Regions from separate parts of the Homo sapiens genome. Here region 2 is linked to region 1. Evidence: promoter capture Hi-C in 16 types of primary human blood cells and fetal thymus (Javierre and others, 2016). All regions are on one chromosome and are shown on one strand. Each heading gives the region's core, a stretch centred on a gene start or on the middle of the fragment in contact. The rest is flanking DNA. Distances are from core to core; before and after follow the strand shown.

The links. The method cuts DNA at HindIII sites, captures the fragments that hold promoters and counts their contacts. A CHiCAGO score of 5 or more calls a contact.
Region 2: a contact is called between the fragment with the promoter of H2BC21 here and the fragment with the promoter of PLEKHO1 in region 1, in 3 of 17 cell types (M2 macrophages, M0 macrophages and M1 macrophages). The highest score is 10.7, in M2 macrophages.

What each region holds. Positions count from the first base shown.
Region 1 is chr1:150,148,321-150,152,495 of GRCh38, reverse strand. It overlaps PLEKHO1 (pleckstrin homology domain containing O1), which reads right to left and starts at 2,580. Exons shown (of 6, transcript NM_016274.6): 1 at 2,209-2,580; 2 at 1,438-1,584. The coding sequence starts at 2,238. RefSeq lists silencers at 2,273-2,352, 2,493-2,952 and an enhancer at 2,140-2,640. The HindIII fragment of the contact is 16,730 bases long and covers 1-4,175 here.
Region 2 is chr1:149,884,640-149,888,502 of GRCh38, reverse strand. H2BC21 (H2B clustered histone 21) reads left to right here and starts at 1,821. Exons shown (of 1, transcript NM_003528.3): 1 at 1,821-3,863. The coding sequence starts at 1,863. The coding sequence ends at 2,243. H2AC20 (H2A clustered histone 20) reads right to left here and starts at 1,585. Exons shown (of 1, transcript NM_003517.3): 1 at 1,092-1,585. The coding sequence starts at 1,528. The coding sequence ends at 1,139. It overlaps H2AC21 (H2A clustered histone 21), which reads left to right and starts at 538. Exons shown (of 1, transcript NM_175065.3): 1 at 538-1,034. The coding sequence starts at 587. The coding sequence ends at 979. RefSeq lists enhancers at 468-757, 778-917, 1,328-1,387, 1,518-1,587, 1,908-2,197 and 5 more. The HindIII fragment of the contact is 10,069 bases long and covers 1,619-3,863 here.

The DNA.
Region 1 (4,175 bases), core at 1,331-3,830:
ACACTGTCTCTACAAAAAATACAAAAACTAGCCAGACATGGTGGCACCCACCTGTAGTCCCAGCTACTCCAAGGATGAGGTGGGAGGATCACTTGAGCCTGGGAGGTGGAAGCTGAAGTGAGCTGTGATTGAGCCACTGCATTCCTGCCTGGATGACAGACCAAGAAAAGTGCCCTCACCTCACTCCTAAGACTTTCCATCACCAACTTGCTAGTTTTGTGTAAACAGCTAGGTTTCAATACCCTTAAGAGGGATCTCTTTGGCTGTGGCACAGCTTAGTTCTTCCCTAGATGCCTCAGTAGATGTTCTTTTAGATGAGTACTTTGTCTCAGGGTGTGTGTGTGTATGTTTCAATACCATAAAAGGTTTTATTTACCTAAATATAATCTACTGAATAAGGATGTCTACTGCAGAAAGCAGAAGAGGTTAGAACTCAGGGAGGACTTCCCAGTTAGCCCTGGGTGAGGGAACACAGAATACCTCCCGTGAGGGCGGGAGGAAGGGCCACTCTAACCGGTACACAGGACAGTCTTCCAGGCTATACTGACTGCCTTTGGACAGTCACAGAGGCAGGGAATGGAATGACTTCTAACCACTGTAGGGGCAATTCTGATTTCTCCACATTAGTACACGTTATTGATCCCAAGACTTAGGGAAAAAAGGGAGATGGGTCTGGATTCAATTATCATAGCTCAGGTCTTGACACAGTGTAGACTGTGGTTTTCATGGTTAACTACACAGCCAAAGCTATCCAAAGACATACAGGGGTTCTTAACTCCATTTCTCTCCCTTCTGATACAAATGGAGGGGTGGGCAGGAAGTGGGTAGAAAATGGGTTCCTTGCCTTTTTTAAATGGGGTGGGGGTGGGGAACAGAGAGCATACTGGTTAGGGACACTGGCTTCAACGAAAATAACTGCCACTCACACACCCGAGGTCACAGGGGCCTGACGGCGGGGTGCGTGTTTTCTGTGATTCAGGGCGGATGCGCCACGGACAGGACCTGTGCACGCTCCTGCCACAGACAGGAAAGGGGAGGCTGGCTGGGTTAAGGTGGGGGGACAGGAAGGGGTGGCGAATAGGCTAAACTGTTTCAGCAGAAATAGAAAAGAAATCCTATATGCAGGAGGCCAGGTTAGGGTGGGAGGCAGCAAGGGACACTTAGAACTTCTGGGGCATCTTGGGAGGGGCTTATCGTTGTTAGAAAGGTATTTGCAAACAAAAAAACACTGAGTAAGCGGCCAACTCAACTTCTAATTCTCACTCTGGTCTTCTCATTAAAGGGTGGCCTTTCTCTGCAGATGAGATGGGGGTAGAGAGGAGACCACTGAACTTGCCTTTGGAACAAAACGGGGGTGGAGTAAGCTAGGCGAGCCCTTGGGGAGTGACAAAGTGGGGGCTATGAGAAAACGGAGAGTTAGAGGCAAGAGGCACCCACCTCCTTCTCAGAGATGTAGAGCTGGTCCCCTTTCAGCACCACATAGCGGTTTTTCCAAATCTCCCTGAAAATCCCTTTCCCGCAGAATTTCCGGACCCAGCCGACCTTCTCGGGCGGTGCAGGCTGCTGGTTTCCATCCTGAGGTCCCTGCCCCAGGACAAGATGAGAAGCGGGCGGTTAGGAGATTCCAGCCGGCGCTTCCTCTCCGTCCGTCTCTCACGACCGCCTCGGCGGCCCAGTCTCCTCCGAAGGCTGCGGCCGGGGGGCGGGGGGCCGCCCCAGGTTCGCTCCCACTTCGGAAAGGTTTTCACTCCGAGGAACTCCCCCCGCTCCCCTCCCCCGCTCCCGAATAAACAACCGGGGCTGCAAGTGGCAGGGGCGCCGGCCGGGCGCGGAGAGGCTCCCAGGTTCCCTCCAGGCCCTGCGCCCCCGCCGCCCCGTCCTCGCCGCGCGGGGACTAACGGCGTTTCTCTGGTTTTCTCTCCCATTGTCTCCTCGCCACGGCGGAGCGCGAGGCAAACGCTCGCCCGGCGCCCGGGGGCGGGGGAGGTGCGGGTCGTGGGGAAACTCAGCCAAGTTGAAGCCCCCCGAGGCGAGTAAACAAACAAAAGCCCCCGCGGGCGCCTGGCGGGGCCGAGGCCGAGGGGACCGGGCCGCCGGGGCGGGGGCGCGGCCGGGCCGTGGGTCTCCCAGGCCGCCGCGGCGCCGACGGAGCGGGGGTCGTCAGAGCGCGGAGGCGGCGGCGGCCGCAGGGCGGGCAAGCGCACTCACCCGCTTGGCGGAATTGTTCTTCTTCATCATTCCCAGCGGGCGCGGGCGCGGGGCGGCGAGCCGAGGGGCGGCCCCGCGTCGGGGCCTCGGCGGCACCGCGGGGGCTCCTTCCCCGCGGGAGGGCGTCGGAGCTGCCCCGGCGCCGCCGCTCCTCCCTCGCGCCCTCCCGCTCCCGGACTCTCCCCTTCTTTGTAGCTCCGGTTTCACTCAAGGCCGGCCTCCCTCGCATTCGCACTCGCACACACACGCACGCCCGCTCCCCGCCCCTTGGCGCCCTCCATCCCGGCGCCCACGCGGCCCGGGTCCCCGAGCGCACCCCCGCCACCCGCCCGCCCGGCCCAGCGCGGCCGCTCCCCCGGCCCGGTGCGCTGTGGGCGGCCCAGTCCGCACCCCGCAGCTCCATCCGCGGGCCGCTGACGTTGCGAGTTCAGAATAAAGGGCGAATCGCGGAGCCGCAGCTCGGGCGCTCCCCCCGCCCCCCCGCCTTTGTTTCTGACTCACGGAGGGGGAAGAAGGCGGCTTCGAAGCGGCTGGAGACCGCTCCCCAGGGGGCAGGGACCCTCGCTCCGGCGGCGGCTCGGGCGACACGCGGAGCCCGAGAGACCCGGCCGCCGGCCGCCCCGGGGCCCAGTGGGCGGGCGCGGTGGATAATGGAGAGACGTGCGGATTCGTGAAGACTGGAGATCGCCAGCCTCTACAGCATCGCCTTACCCGACCAAAAACAAAAACGAGAGCGGGAACCGGGAGGGCGCGCCACCCACAACCCGCATCAGGAATTCACGCTCCTAGGTGCTAGGGTGGCCTGGGCAGGTCAGATGCTGGGGGAAAGTTTTATGCTCCGGAGGGGATCGACGTGTTGGGGGATGGGGTGGGACAGAAGTTGCTATTAATACACGTTTCTTCCAGCGTACAATGCCTCAGGCCTTATTGTAGCTTCAGGAGAATAATCCTAAGGATGAGGCGGATTTTATGATCTCCATCTCACAGGGAGAAAACGGAGACTCAGAATAGCTGAGGGATTTGCAGACACAGTGTCGATGCTGGCTTTTCAGACACAGTGTCAATGCTGGCAGGAATAGAACTCTGTCTCCAAACCATTATCCTTTCTACCAAGTGGCTTTCAATATAAGTTCCAGGTGAGGCTTAAACTTCCTGCCACCTGGGTATCTTTTCCCGCTATACTGATAGGTAAAAACCCCACCCTCTCTACAGCGCTGGAGCCCAGTGGAGGGAAGGGCTGAACGCCCAGAGAATGCCCTGACTAGAGAAGCCTCTGCTGATCCCTCCTACAGCAGATCTGCCTCAGAGCCTCCAGGACACATCTTAGTAACTTCATGTCTTTTTAATATATATACGTGTGATGGAAAAGGGGAGTGAGAAACCCCGCGCTTGGGTACTGGTTTCATCACCACTCTGGGCTTTGGTCAAGTCACTGAATTTCTTTAGGCCCGCGTCCCTCCACGTATTAAGTGGTGAGGGATGAACTGCCATTTTTATCAACAAGGAAAGCTAGGGGAAGATATGAGATGACCTCTGAGAGTCCTTTGAAGATATGTGTTGTCTTCCAGGGCTAATTTTGAAATCATAATAAGCTAATAAACACATTGCCTGGCATATGGCAAGCATGCAGTAACCACAAAATGAATAAAAATCCCTGGCACTGAGGAGCAGGGAAAAGGAAAAATCATTTTTCCAGAGATGTCTCAAGATAAAAGTGTTGGCTAGATTTGTGGTTTGAATAGTGGAGGCTCTTTTGACTTTTTCTGGTGTCTGTCAAATGAAGGAGGGGCTCCCTCTCTTTTCCAGTTCCACCTTTCCTCCTAATCCAATGATATTCCTCTCAACTTCTTTCCATTCACCATACCAATTAATTCCACGATTTTAGACTGACACAGAACTTTATCCTTTCAAAATGCTCTTATATGTCATTTCTTTACACTTTTAATGCCACCTTGTAAGGTATATAG
Region 2 (3,863 bases), core at 572-3,071, 260 kb after region 1:
GCTGCGGGCGACTTAAGTTTAGGGGCGAGAAAGGAGGCAGCCTTAGTAGTACATGTATTTTTAAAGGGAATTTGGCTGTGACGAGACAGAAAGGGCGGGACTTGGCAGTTTAGAGCTCAAGGGGATCATCGGCTTCAGAATCCCCTACTCTTTCGTGAGAGTAACTCTCCGTCTAAGGATGTCTTCTGCAGTTCCTTAGGGTCCATATTGGGATTTCCCGGCTGTAAACTAAACAAAGCAAAGCAAAACAAAACAAAAACCCACAGTGCCTCTCAGTAAAACAAAACCAGTATTTTGTTTGAAAGCCTGCTCTCTTTAAAGATCCTGGCATGCAAATAAGGGGCTTTAATGTGGCTCTCAGCGATTGGTAGATACTTACAAAATCCGTCATTTCCTTTCAGTGCAGGACGCAAACCAAGAGGCGGCTTTCTGCTTTTCTATTGGCTGTTAGATACGGCTCCGCTTTTAGCCAATCAAACGACTTCCCTTCACCCCTCCCGGTAGCTCTTATAAATTACATCAAATTGGTTATTCTTTCCACATTCTTCTCCTTGTAAAAGAAGCTGTAACTGCAATTTTAGCCGTAATGTCAGGACGCGGAAAGCAGGGAGGCAAGGCCCGCGCTAAGGCCAAGTCGCGCTCGTCCCGCGCTGGTCTCCAGTTCCCGGTGGGGCGAGTGCACCGCTTGCTGCGCAAAGGCAACTACGCGGAGCGGGTCGGGGCAGGCGCCCCGGTGTACCTGGCGGCGGTCCTCGAGTACCTGACCGCGGAAATTCTGGAGCTGGCGGGCAACGCGGCTCGGGACAACAAGAAGACGCGCATCATCCCTCGCCATCTGCAACTAGCCGTGAGGAATGACGAAGAGCTCAACAAGTTACTCGGGGGTGTCACCATTGCCCAGGGCGGCGTCTTGCCCAATATCCAGGCTGTCCTGTTGCCCAAGAAAACGGAGAGTCACAAGCCTGGCAAGAACAAGTAATTAAGAGGCTTGACACCATACTCATTCACCCCAAAGGCTCTTTTAAGAGCCACCAAAGTGTCAAATGAAGGGCTGATCACGAAATAGCGCATTAGCTCTTTTTTTGAAAACTTGGGTGGCTCTAAAAAGAGCCTTTGGTCTTGGTTTGTTTGTCTGCATTTATTTGCTTTTGGCTTTGTGGCTTTCGGTTTTCTTTGGTAACAGAACGGCCTGGATGTTAGGCAAAACGCCGCCCTGGGCGATGGTGACTTTGCCCAGCAGCTTGTTCAGTTCCTCGTCGTTGCGGATGGCCAGCTGGAGGTGACGAGGGATGATGCGCGTCTTCTTGTTGTCCCGAGCCGCGTTGCCCGCCAGCTCCAGGATCTCGGCGGTCAGGTACTCGAGGACCGCCGCCATGTAGACGGGCGCGCCGGCCCCCACCCGCTCCGCGTAGTTGCCTTTGCGCAGCAAGCGGTGCACTCGCCCTACCGGGAACTGGAGGCCAGCGCGGGACGAGCGCGACTTGGCCTTGGCGCGGGCCTTGCCTCCTTGTTTGCCACGACCAGACATGACTGAAATCAAGGTTAAACACAGACAACGCTCAGAACCTCGCAACAAAATAAGATTGAAAGAGAACCAAGAGGAAAGCCTTTATAAGCTTTCCTAGGGGTGGGGTCAAGAACGAGTTTTTCATTGGTCCTAATATGGCTTCAGAACCGGCCAATCAAGTCAAGAGTCGGTGTTGTTACGTACGCATTGCTGAAAACGCAAGGTCCGCACACGGACCAATGGAAATGAACGACTTTCGGAGCCCTAATTTGCATAAGGTGGTTATAAAAGAATCAGGCCCGCCCATTCTCTTACTTCTTTTCTTGGCTAAGCCGCGTTTGTACTGTGTCTTACCATGCCTGAACCGGCAAAATCCGCTCCGGCCCCTAAAAAGGGCTCCAAGAAAGCCGTCACCAAAGCCCAGAAGAAAGACGGCAAGAAGCGCAAGCGCAGCCGCAAAGAGAGCTACTCCATCTACGTGTACAAGGTGCTGAAGCAGGTCCACCCCGACACCGGCATCTCGTCCAAGGCCATGGGCATCATGAACTCCTTCGTCAACGACATCTTCGAGCGCATCGCGGGAGAGGCTTCCCGCCTGGCGCACTACAACAAGCGCTCCACCATCACATCCCGCGAGATCCAGACGGCCGTGCGCCTGCTGCTGCCCGGCGAGCTGGCCAAGCACGCCGTGTCCGAGGGCACCAAGGCGGTCACCAAGTACACCAGCTCCAAGTGAGTCCCTGCCGGGACCTGGCGCTCGCTCGCTCGAGTCGCCGGCTGCTTGACTCCAAAGGCTCTTTTCAGAGCCACCCACCTAATCACTAGAAAAGAGCTTGTTCACTTATTCCCTTAGTTTCTTTTCATAAAGTAAGTTATTTTAGTGTGAAGGTCATGGGAAATGGCATACGTAGCTTTTTAACTATTTGGAACTCGAGGTCCCCAGTGCGTCATTGGATTTGCTTTTGAATCTAGAGCGTGTCTTTACTCATTGTGCTGCTTAGCCTTCCCAGGAGTCGGTTCTCAATTAGGCTGTTGGGAATCCGCCTCTTTACCCGCCCCCACTCCCGCCCCACACGCGCCCTGGTGGCTCCTTGGGTCTGTTTCATTCTAAAACGAAGTGGCTGAGTTCGGCTGTCATTTAAGAGAACTCCAGGACACAATTCAGCCCGGGTTCCGCAAACACTGCGTGACAGCTCTGTATGACTGACGCTTGGCAGCAGCTTTTGTGTCCGGTCACCAGTTCTGCCGTGCGATGGGGCCTCCTGTGGATACCAGCCGTTCTGTGTATTTTGGACGAAGGCCGCGCAGCCGGGTCCCAGCCTTGTCCTGATTGGGCGACAAGAATATTCAAAATTCTGCGCCTTTTTCTAATTTGTAGATTTCAGTTTCCGTCGTTCACTTTGAGACTTTGAAATTCCTATTTCTCATTTTGTTGATAATTTCTGCATTTAATGGTCTGTGCTTTAAATGGTAACGCTACGGCCCCAGGTCACTGCGAGGCACTTACCATGTAGATACGGGCTCAAAAGTCACCTCTCAGAGACCTACGTCATCCACTCAGGAATTCGCGCCTCTCATACTTGCCTGTCTCATTTTATCTTCCTTCTAGCAGCTGTCTGAAATTGGTTCGTCTGTTTTCTTGTTTATGGTATTCTCAAGCCCTTGACAGACCGGCTAGTGTGGTTTTCCCGTGCATCTTCAGCCTGGCACATTATGGACACTTAAATACTACGTATTGATCTAATATTGTTGGGTTAATTTTTCCATCCCACCCTTTTCTTAATCGCTTCCGTGGATGGATGAAGGGTGCTGTTCATTTCCATTAGATGTATGTGAAGGCACAGTGAAAATGGAAATGTTCTTGGAGCTACTTCCTCAAAATGTATCCTTAGTCACCTCAGTGCAACAGCTGGGAGGGGGCCGTGTTAAGATTTTTTTTGCTACAAAGAGGAGGTGGCAATGGTAGATCCACCCTTATGCTTCTCAGTTTAGCATAACCTCTTATGGATTTTCATCAAATTCAGCGTGTTGGTCACTGGAAAGAGCCTTTTCCTTCTCCTTTTCTTACTCTCCCCTCATGGTGTTCCCCTCTTAAAGGAGAGGAGCTTTTAATTTACACTTACCACCTCATTTGCTTTTCTGGAGGCCATGCAATATAGGCGGGACTACAGAGTTAATCTCCTTTTTACAAATGAGGCCAAGAGAAGCCTCATTGGTTCACAGTCATGCAGCTCATACTGTCCACCCTTGTATTCTCAGATGCAGGACAATTGCATTTTAGTTTTATTTTGTGGAGGTGCAGAATATTTACTCTTTCTGTCCAACCCTTGATTCTGCCGAGGAAGACACTGATGGT